Regions from separate parts of the Homo sapiens genome. Here region 1 is linked to region 2. Evidence: promoter capture Hi-C in 16 types of primary human blood cells and fetal thymus (Javierre and others, 2016). All regions are on one chromosome and are shown on one strand. Each heading gives the region's core, a stretch centred on a gene start or on the middle of the fragment in contact. The rest is flanking DNA. Distances are from core to core; before and after follow the strand shown.

Region 1 (4,802 bases), core at 431-2,930, about 37 Mb before region 2:
CAGATGAACTTCCCATTGGTTTTTCAACCCCTTGCATCTTTGGCCAGGCTGATCTCATTGCGCAAGACACTTCCCTAAACACTGTGGTAGACCTAACTCTTACCTTCAAGTCTCAGCTCAAACTTTCATTCATTCATTTAACAAATACCCACTGAGTGCCGCCTATGTACCCAGCATGCTCTAGGTACTGGGACACAGCAGTGAGCAAGATAGGAAAGGTTGCAGCTGTCAGGGCACTGATGTTCTAATGGAGGAACCAGGCCATGGATAAGGAAGTAAATGACTAAGATGCTTTCCAAATACGAGGGAATTATCTTTGGTGGTATGACTGGGGGGGGGGGAACAGGGAGGGGGTTCTTTAGGGTGGCTGGAGGCCTTTGAGCTGAGGCCAACAAAATGAGTAGACAGATATTGGGTCAGGGTGGGAAGAATGCTCCAAATTGAGTTAATAGCAAATGCAAAGGACATGAAGGGCAGGGCCTGGCTGTGTTCAGCCCATTGGAAAGTGTGTTGTGACTGAGGACGACCAGAAAGGACCAGAAGCTTAGAGGTTGGCAGGATAAGGAGCTTGGATTTTATTCTGAGATGGGAACCACTGGATGATTTTAAGCTGGGGGGCAGGGTAGTGACTGGTGACAGGATCTGATTTATATTTCCACAGGCTTCCTGGCACTGTGCCTGAATAGAGGGTGGAGTGTGGCAAGGGAAGAAACAGAACAGTGAGGAGGCCCCTGCAGTGATGCAGGTGAGGAGTAACGGTAGCTCGGAGCAGAATGGAGACAGTGGAAGTGGAGAGAAGTGGTTAGATTCTGGGCCTCTTCTGGAGATAGAGACGATGAGACTCACACAAGATTTGGTTGCGGGAGGGAAGCGGATGAGAGAAACAGAACACTGGCGACCATTCCAAGATTTTGGCTTGAGCACTTGGATGGACAGTTAGTGGGGAGGAGGCAGAAAGATTGTGAGAGGAGCAGGTTTAGGACAGGGAATCTGGGATTTCGTTTGGATGTGGTAGATTTGAGGTCCTTTGCTCTGTAAGGTCTTTCCTGAACCCTGGGCTGGGTCTAGCACCTCCTCTGTGTTCCCACAGCCTCCTGAGCACCCCCTGGGCCAGCCCTGACCACTCTGTGTTGTAACCAGGACAGAGGAGGGTGCACTCGCACTGCACCCAGGTTGAAGGGCGAGAGTGAGAAGGTGTCAGGCTGGGCCGCAGAATCCAAAGCGGGTCAGCAGGTACAACAGCTGCTTAGAGCACTCCCACCCGGAGAGAGGGATTGAGAGATCACGGAAAAGGGTGCCATCTTTCCAGGGACGCCTACCAGAACGCGGGGGAGAGAAATACAGAGACCCTCAACTCCGCCACGTCATCGCGACAAAGGGCCAGGACCGGCCGGCCGCGGGATGGGCGCTCACCTGGGCAGAACTGGAGCTGGAAGGGCCAACCTCCAAAGAAACGAGGAGCGGGCGGAAGGACTACGACTCCCGGAAGGCTTTGGGCCCATCCGCCTACGACTCCCAGGTGCCCCTGCGTTGCGTCGTCCCGAAACACTTGCGGCTCTCGGACAAACTGGGCCTACAGTTCCCAGAGATCCTCGCGGCAGCGCTGCGCATTCTGCGCACGCCTCCCAGAGTGTACTAGGCCGGTCCGGCCCGCTTCCCGTCTGCGCCTGCGCAAGCACAATAGCCGTGCCAGAATTCTCTGCCAGCTGCTGTGCACTGCTGTCAGTGCAAAGATGGGATGGACTTTTTTTTCAGATTTTCTGCTGTTGTGGGAGTATGGCAAGAGTTTGAGGGGGCGGAGAAAGAGATTGGGAATGTGAAAAGGGAAGATAGCACCTGCGCTAAGCACATTCCTAGGATTGGGCCGCGTCTCGGGGATGCAGAGTGGGCTCTTCGGCGCGCCCTGCAGCCATGGGAGTGGACGCCTGCCCAGGCCGAAGGGCAAGGACTTGCGGGGTGGGGTCTCTGTGCATGCGCGGAGCTGAAAGGGAGCGTTTTGCAGATCTCCACGCGTGCGCAACTCTCGGGACGTGGACGCGGTGAACAGTTACGCACAATCGTCTTTCTGACACAAACACACCCTGCCAGGTGGAAGCCAGGATGGAGGGCAGGTGAGACCCGTAAGGCAAGATCCCAAAACCAAGGAACGGAGCACTCTCCCCGCTTGCTCCCCAGATCCAAGCCCTCCACTTCCTTCCAATGCCCCCCTTCCCGAAACTGCTCCCTCCTGTATATTCTGAGATCTTATCACTATTCCCGTGAGGCCCTTGATAAGGAGGATTGAGAGTGAAGGGTGATGGGAGACACGCCTTGGGCGTCTTCTGTCCACCTCAAGGATTGAACTTTGGTAACTGGAACTCATTCATTTGTTAATCTGTGTGCTAGGCCCTTTGACCCGCTGGCCAGATGCACCGGGACACAGGTGTATTCAGCCTGGTCCAGAGATAAGGATGATAAATCTTAATGTAAAGGTATCAGATGTTAAGGGCTGCAGGAGCCCAGAGGTTACAAGTGCTGCAAGCCAGAACATGGGGAAACAACAGCAATTAAGCCGTTAGCTTGTGCCTTGGAGGGGTGTTTGCCCTGCACCCCACTCACTACCTGAAGATAAATGGCTTCTCCAACGTGTAGTGGGGTTGGGATGATGAGGATGACATCACTGCCAGGTGGGAGGCAGGAGCTGCAGGTCCTGACATGATGAGGCAGGTATGGGCCGCCCTGGGCTGAGGGGGACATGGGCTACCCTGGACTGGAGGGCTGGGCTGTGGCATGGGGACCCTGTCAGAGACAGGTGTTTGGCCTCCATGCCTTCCTGTGTCTCTGGAAGGGTGAAACTAAGCGGGATGCTCCTCTCCCAGCCCCACCTGCTTTTCAGAGGCTACCATATGCTGGAGGGGGAAGATCCTGGCCACAAGCAGAGGCCCTGGAGGTGAATCAGTGTTGGAAGTGGGGTGGTTGGTTCTGGGTCCTCCCTGAGGCTCACATGGCTGCCCCTCCCCATCCTCCAGGCCTCGCCTTCTGTCCCGGATCCGCCAATCCTCCGATCCCTGGATCCTCTGATGATGGCATCAACTGTCTGGGCTACAGGTTGCTCTCCAAAGAGTGGCTGCCCCTCTACACCAACCTCACTGTGGACATAACTTCCAAGCCTCAGGAGACCCAGTGCAAAGCTGAGGGGTATCTTATCTGGAAGCCAGAAAGAGCCCCTGAGGCCAAGGTCACAGGGAAGCCCTCCCACTCACCCCACCTGGTTTCTTTTAAAAGTAGAGTTTATTTTATCTCCTTTCTGCCATCCCTAATTCCTTCCTTCCATCTGTCCATCCATCTTCTTTCCCCTCCCTCCCTTCCTCCCTTCTCCTTCTCCTCCTCCCCACACCTGCTTCTTTTCTCTTTCTTTCAACTATGTCCAGAAGGTCCTTCTTAACAAACACTAATTAGTACAGGGAAAGGTCTCTTTAAGTGAATGCATTTAAAATAGGGAGTCCACCTTTGTGGTAAATAGTGTGCACGAGGTGAGTCTGGATCAGGACTTCACACTTGATAACGGAATTCAATTTCTCAAAATACCTTTATTTCAGATTTAATGAAATTCCATGTTTGTTGAATCATTAAGAACGAGCATTTGTGTTGTACTCATGGTGGACAGCCACCATTCTAATGCTTGACTTTACATAATTAACGCATGTAATCTGCAAAGGAGCCACAAGGCGAGATCTATTATTATTCCCATTGTGCTGCTGGAGAAATTAAGGCAGAGAGGTTAAGTTGCTTGCCACCAAACTAGCGAGGGGCAGAGCTGGGATGTGTAGCATCCAGGTAGGTTGGCTCCAGAGCCCATGAGCCTAACTACTACTGTGCCCAACCTTTGTGCCAATCGCCACAACAGTCAAAGGATGGATCAAGTACTGGTTTTGGGGGTGGGGGCAGGGGACTCTGGGCAGTATGTTTTCTGATCACATCACATGACAGTAGGACATTCTTCATTTCACCATGGCTTTCACTGCCCAACAATAAAAAGGTCATGGGCACTTTGGGAGGCCGAGGGGGGGGGATCACGAGGTCAGGAGATCGAGACCATCCTGGCCAACACGGTGAAACCCCGTCTCTACTAAAAATACAAAAAATTAGCCAGGCATGGTGGTGGGCGCCTGTAGTCCCAGCTACTCGGGAGGCTGAGGCAGGAGAATGGCGTGAACCCGGGAGGCGGAGCTTGCAGTGAGCTGAGATCGTGCCACTGCACTCCAGAGCCTGGGCGACAGAGCGAGACTCCATCTCACAAGAAAAAAAAAAAAAAGGTCATGAGGAGGTAAAGTAGTACAATGGTTGAGAGTTAAAACACTGGCATCAGATAGCTTGGTTCAAATCCAGGCTTTTCTTGTTCCTAGATTTTCGGTCTTGAGTTTACGTCAAATTCTCTAAGCCTGTTTCCTCATCTCTAAAATGGGGTTTATGAGGTTAGATTATTTCCTACAATGGCTGTGAGGAATAAACGAGTTAGTTCATACAAGCTGCCTAGAATAGTAGCTTCTCCCTCTGGAAACTCAAAACTCTTGACCTCTCATCTCATGATGAGGCCATTGGACTAACATTTATTCATCTCTTAGTTCTCTGAGCCAACAGATCTTTTCACAGATCTGTGAGCATGCCCTCATGTGACTGAAAACTTTAGATAGCTCCCTGGGACCCATCAATTCCAAAGCTAATCACCCAACCAAACTCCAGATTCCTCCGTCTATTATCCCACAGGCATTGAGTACAGACTGGCTTGTCCCAGCGCTTGGTACTGAGAGGAAAGAAAAAAT
Region 2 (4,614 bases), core at 676-3,175:
AGGTATGGTTGCTCACGCCTATAATCCCAGCACTTTGGGAGGCCGAGGCGGGTGGATCACCTGAGGTCAGGAGTTCCAGACCAGCCTGGCCAACATGGTGAAACCCCGTCTCTACTAAAAATACAAAAATTAGCCGGGCATGGTGGCGGGCGCCTATAATCACAGCTGCCTGGGAAGCTGAGGCACGAGAATTGCTTGAACCCAGGAGGCAGAAGCTGCAGTGAGCCGAGATTGTGCCACTGCACTCCAGCCTGGGTGATGAAGTGAGACTCTGTCTCAAAAAAAAAAAAAAAAAAGACAATATGACACCATAAAAATCAAATATAAGAATAACTTAAAGTGCCTGTCTTTCATAAGACATAATCACACAAGTTTCAGGTACCTTTAAGAAACAATATTAATTCTTTTTAAAAAGGCAAGGCAAGCGCATATATTCTTTGTGGAAACAAACACCTCACTCGTAAAACTGAAATCTGATGCATGATTTTCCTCTGGAGTTAATTTTTTCCTGATTTCTCAGTAGACACGAGCTTTAACCCCATTATTAAAAAAGACATCCCACTTATGGCCAACTCAATTTGAATTTCCAGTATTAACAAAGTTTATATCGTCTTTTCCCTGAAGTTCCATTAGTTTTGAAGCTCTGTGATTCACATGCTTGGGGGAAGGACTGGAGCCAACTTGAAAAGATCTGAATAACAGTCTTAGGTTTTCTTGATAATAATATTTGTGAAATAACTGAGAAACGGCTTTTCTTAACCTAACAGTGAGAAACTTGATGCCCACAGCAGAAGTAAAAGTCGTCTCAAACATAGAAAATAAAGAAAAACAAAAACAAAAAAAATTAAGAACTCCTCCTTTTGTTGTTGTTTTTGTTTTTGAGATGGAGTCTTGCTCTGTCACCCAGGCTGGAGTGCAGTGGCACAATCTCAGCTCACTGCAACCTCCGCCTCTGGGGTTCAAGCGATTCTCCTGCCTCAGCCTCCCGAGTAGTTGGGATTACAGGCGCCCACCACTACGCTCGGCTAATTTGTGTATTTTTAGTAAAGACAGGGTTTCACCATGTTGGCCAGGCTGGTCTCAAACTCCTGACCTCAGGTGATCCACCCGCCTCGGCCTCCCAAAGTGCTGGGATTATAGGAGTGAGCCACCAAGCCTGGCCAAAAGCTTTCTTATGAGAAAGAAAAAAAAGAAGAAAGAAAAAGTTATGGAAAAGGAAGAGATGCAAAGCCAAGCTAACAGATATTAAGCTAAAAGACTTCAAATTGTCAGTCTCCAAAAGAAATCTCTCGTCATCTAATTCATTCCTTAATGGAGGATGCATTCAATTTTTTAAGTAAATTTGGCCAATCAATTAAACCAGTTTGCACATGTGGACCCAGACCTCACTTTCCAGTTGCAAAGCTAGATAATATTAAGTATCATATCAAATAAAACGTGAATTACTAATTCGCAGTTATCTTGCATACTGTAGGCAAGGTAGGGCCGTCTTTATGCACTTTCCCTAAAAATTGGGAAGGACAGGTGAGAGCTGGGGCCGGTGTCACCACATTTCTGAGCTGTGGGACCTGGACTGTTTGGGATTTCCCTTTTGACAGGATGACAGCCCTGTCTGCCCGGACGGGGGGTACCTGAGAGCGAGAGACCGGGCGGCGGGCGCCCAGATGCGAGGCCCTGACTGTGTGGGCCTCACGCCGGCCACCGGCTGATCGCAGGGAGGAAACCCCTCACACAGGCGGAGCTGTTCTAGGCCCTCCAGTCCCTCCCCGCGCCAGCCGAGCCCTCCCCGCCCTCCCCGCCCTCCCGAGGGGCCGGGCCACACCTGCAAGCCAGCCGGAGACACTCCCACCGTGCCGTGCCGCACCGCGCCGCGCCGCGCAGCACAGCTCAGCCGCCGTCGGCCGCCGCCGCGCGCACTTCCGCTTCCGGTCTCGGGGCCGCCGGGAACGGAAGTGGCTGTGGCTCAGGCTGTTGTGGCCAGGGTAGCCTTAGGCGGCGGCAGAGAAACTAACGTCTTCTTTAGCCTCCAAGGAGAAATTCTAGTATTCTTACCCGGGGGATGAGGTTAGGCTCTGGAGTGGGGTCCCACAGAGCATGGAGGGTGGTGCTGGGGGCGGAGCCTATGTCCGAGAGACAGGGATAGGGGTGGGGCTTAGGTCCCGGGGCAAAAGTGGGGCGGGGCCTGTGCGCGGGGGCGGGGTGGAGTGTGGCTTGCCCTCCGATGGCTGATGGGCGGGGCTTGCACCCCAATGGCGGAGTGGGCGGGGCCTTGGTTTGCAGGGTGGTAGTAGGGGCGGGTCGTGCGCCTCAGGGGCAAAAATGGGGCGGGGCTTGTGCTTGGGGTGGGAATGGGAGCTGAACTTGCATTCGGAAGGCGGGATGAGGGGACCTGGGCTTCAAGGGTTGAGAGGGGCACACCCGACCCCTCCCCGGGTCTCTTTAGGGATGCTCAATATTTAACTTACCCTTTTCTCCTTCCTTTTCCCCAACCCCTTCCACCTTTATCCATGGGCTTAATCCAATCCCCTACAAAAATATACCCATACTTAAGATTGTTTTTGTATATTTTTATACGGCTGACCCTTAGGCAACGGGAGTTGGGGCGCCACCCTGTGCAGTGGAAAATTCACTTCTTTTGACTCCCCCAAAACCTACCTACTAATAGACTACTGTTAACCAGAAGCTTTACCAATAACATAAAGTTAGTTAACACATATTTTGTATATTATATGCCATATTCTTAAAATAAACTAAGCTCAGAGAAAAGAAAGTGTTATTAAGAAAATCATGAAGAAGAGAAAATATATTTACTCTTCGTTACGTGGAAGTGATCGTAAAGATCATAAATAAACGTCTTCATCGTCAGCTTCACCCTGAGTAGGCTGAGGAAAGGGAGGGGTTTGTCTTGCTGTCCCAAGGAGGACAAAGGTAGAAAAAAATCTACCTATAAGGGGATAGCCACAGTTCAAACCCTTGGTGTTCACGGGTCAACTAACTGTCTTTATTCTAAAAATAGGACGATGTATTTTTGTTTCTTCTACAGCTTGCCCTTCTCACTAAAAATAAGATGTGTGAATCTAAGACATAGATCTGACTTTTTAAAAACTATTTATTATGTAGTATACATAGTACATACCTATGGGAAAAGTTCAAACGGGAGGCTCACTCTATTCCTAAATTTTCCTCCCCTGAAACAACCACTGTCACTAGTTCCCTGGTATTCTTTATATATCAAGCACATGTGCAGTCATGCACCACATAACAAGGTTTTGGTCAACCACGAAACACATACACAGTTGTGATCCCATAAGGTTATAATGGAGCTGAAAATTTCTTATCACCTAGTGATGTTGTAACTGTCACAATGTTGCAGTGCAACACATTACTCACATTTAAAAAGGTTTTAAAAATATGAAAAGACCGGGCGCGGTGGCTTACGCCTGCAATCCCAAGACTTTGGAGGCCGACGCTGGTGGATCACTTGAGGTCAGGAGTTCGAGACCAGCCTGGCCAACATGATGAAACCCCCAGTCTCTACTAGTAATACAAAAATTAGCTGGGCATGGTGGCATGCGCCTGTAATCCCAGCTATTCGGGAGGCTGAGGCAGGAGAATTGCTTGAACCCAGGAGGTGGAGGGTGCAGTGACCCAAGGTCTTGCCATTGCACTCCAGCCTGTGCAACAAGAGCAAAACTCCATCTCAAAAAAAAAAATGAAAAATAGCTTATAGAATAAGGATATAAAGAAAGAAAATACCTTTATGCAGTACAATTTATCTGTGTTTTAAGCTAAATGTTCTTACAAAGAAGTTGGGCCGGGCGGGGTGGCTCATGCATGTAATCACAGCACACTTTGGGAGGCCAAGGCAGGAGGATCGCTTGAGTCCAGGAGTTCCAGATGACCAGCCTGGGCCACATAGCAAGACACTGTCTCTAAAAATAAAAATAAAAGAAATGTATCATTTAAAAAACAAAATGTACAAAGGTTCAGTTATTTCAGATAAATAAGTTTTGGAGATCTAATGTACAGCATGGTGACTGTAGTTAACAGGAACATATTATGTACTTGAAATGTGCTAAGAGGGTAGGTCTTACGTGTTCTTACCACCAAAAAAAAAAAAGCAAATATGTGAGGCGATGGATGTGCTAATTGCTTCATTATTTCACTGTATGTATATCAAAACATCAAGTTGTACACCTTAAATATATACAATTTTTATTTGTCAACTATAACTCAACAAAGCCAGGAGTAAGAAAGGAGTCAGTGGCCAAGCATGGTGGCTCACGCCTGTAATCCCAGCACTTTGGGAGGCTGAGGCAGGTGGATCACCTGAGGTCAGGAGTTCAAGACCAGCCTGGCCAACATGGTGAAACCCCGTCTCTATTAAAAATACAAAAATTAGCCGGGCATGATGGCAGGCGCCTGTAATCCCAGCTACCCGGGAGGGTGATGCAGGAGAATCACTTGAACCTGGGAAGCAGATGTTGCAGTGAGCCGAGATCGCACCATTGCAATCCAGCCTGGGCAATAGAGCTAGACTCCGTTTCAAAAAAAAAGAAGTGAGAACATCCAGTATTTGGTCTGCTGTTCCTGTGTTAGTTTGCTAAGGATAAT

Evidence for each region. The method cuts DNA at HindIII sites, captures the fragments that hold promoters and counts their contacts. A CHiCAGO score of 5 or more calls a contact.
Region 1: the fragment with the promoter of LINC01530 here is called in contact with the fragment with the promoter of ZNF333 in region 2 in 2 of 17 cell types (total CD8 T cells and total CD4 T cells); the score reaches 7.3 in total CD8 T cells.

What each region holds. Positions count from the first base shown.
Region 1 is chr19:51,591,258-51,596,059 of GRCh38, reverse strand. LINC01530 (long intergenic non-protein coding RNA 1530) reads left to right here and starts at 1,680. Exons shown (of 2, transcript NR_034159.1): 1 at 1,680-2,111; 2 at 3,009-4,277. ZNF175 (zinc finger protein 175) reads right to left here. Exons shown (of 5, transcript NM_007147.4): 5 at 3,550-4,802. RefSeq lists a silencer at 763-930 and enhancers at 1,013-1,062, 1,273-1,582, 1,329-1,964, 1,965-2,600, 2,601-3,236. The HindIII fragment of the contact is 8,842 bases long and covers 546-4,802 here.
Region 2 is chr19:14,687,359-14,691,972 of GRCh38, reverse strand. It overlaps ZNF333 (zinc finger protein 333), which reads right to left and starts at 1,925. Exons shown (of 12, transcript NM_032433.4): 1 at 1,823-1,925. RefSeq lists silencers at 1,582-1,951, 2,282-2,331. The HindIII fragment of the contact is 1,516 bases long and covers 1,170-2,685 here.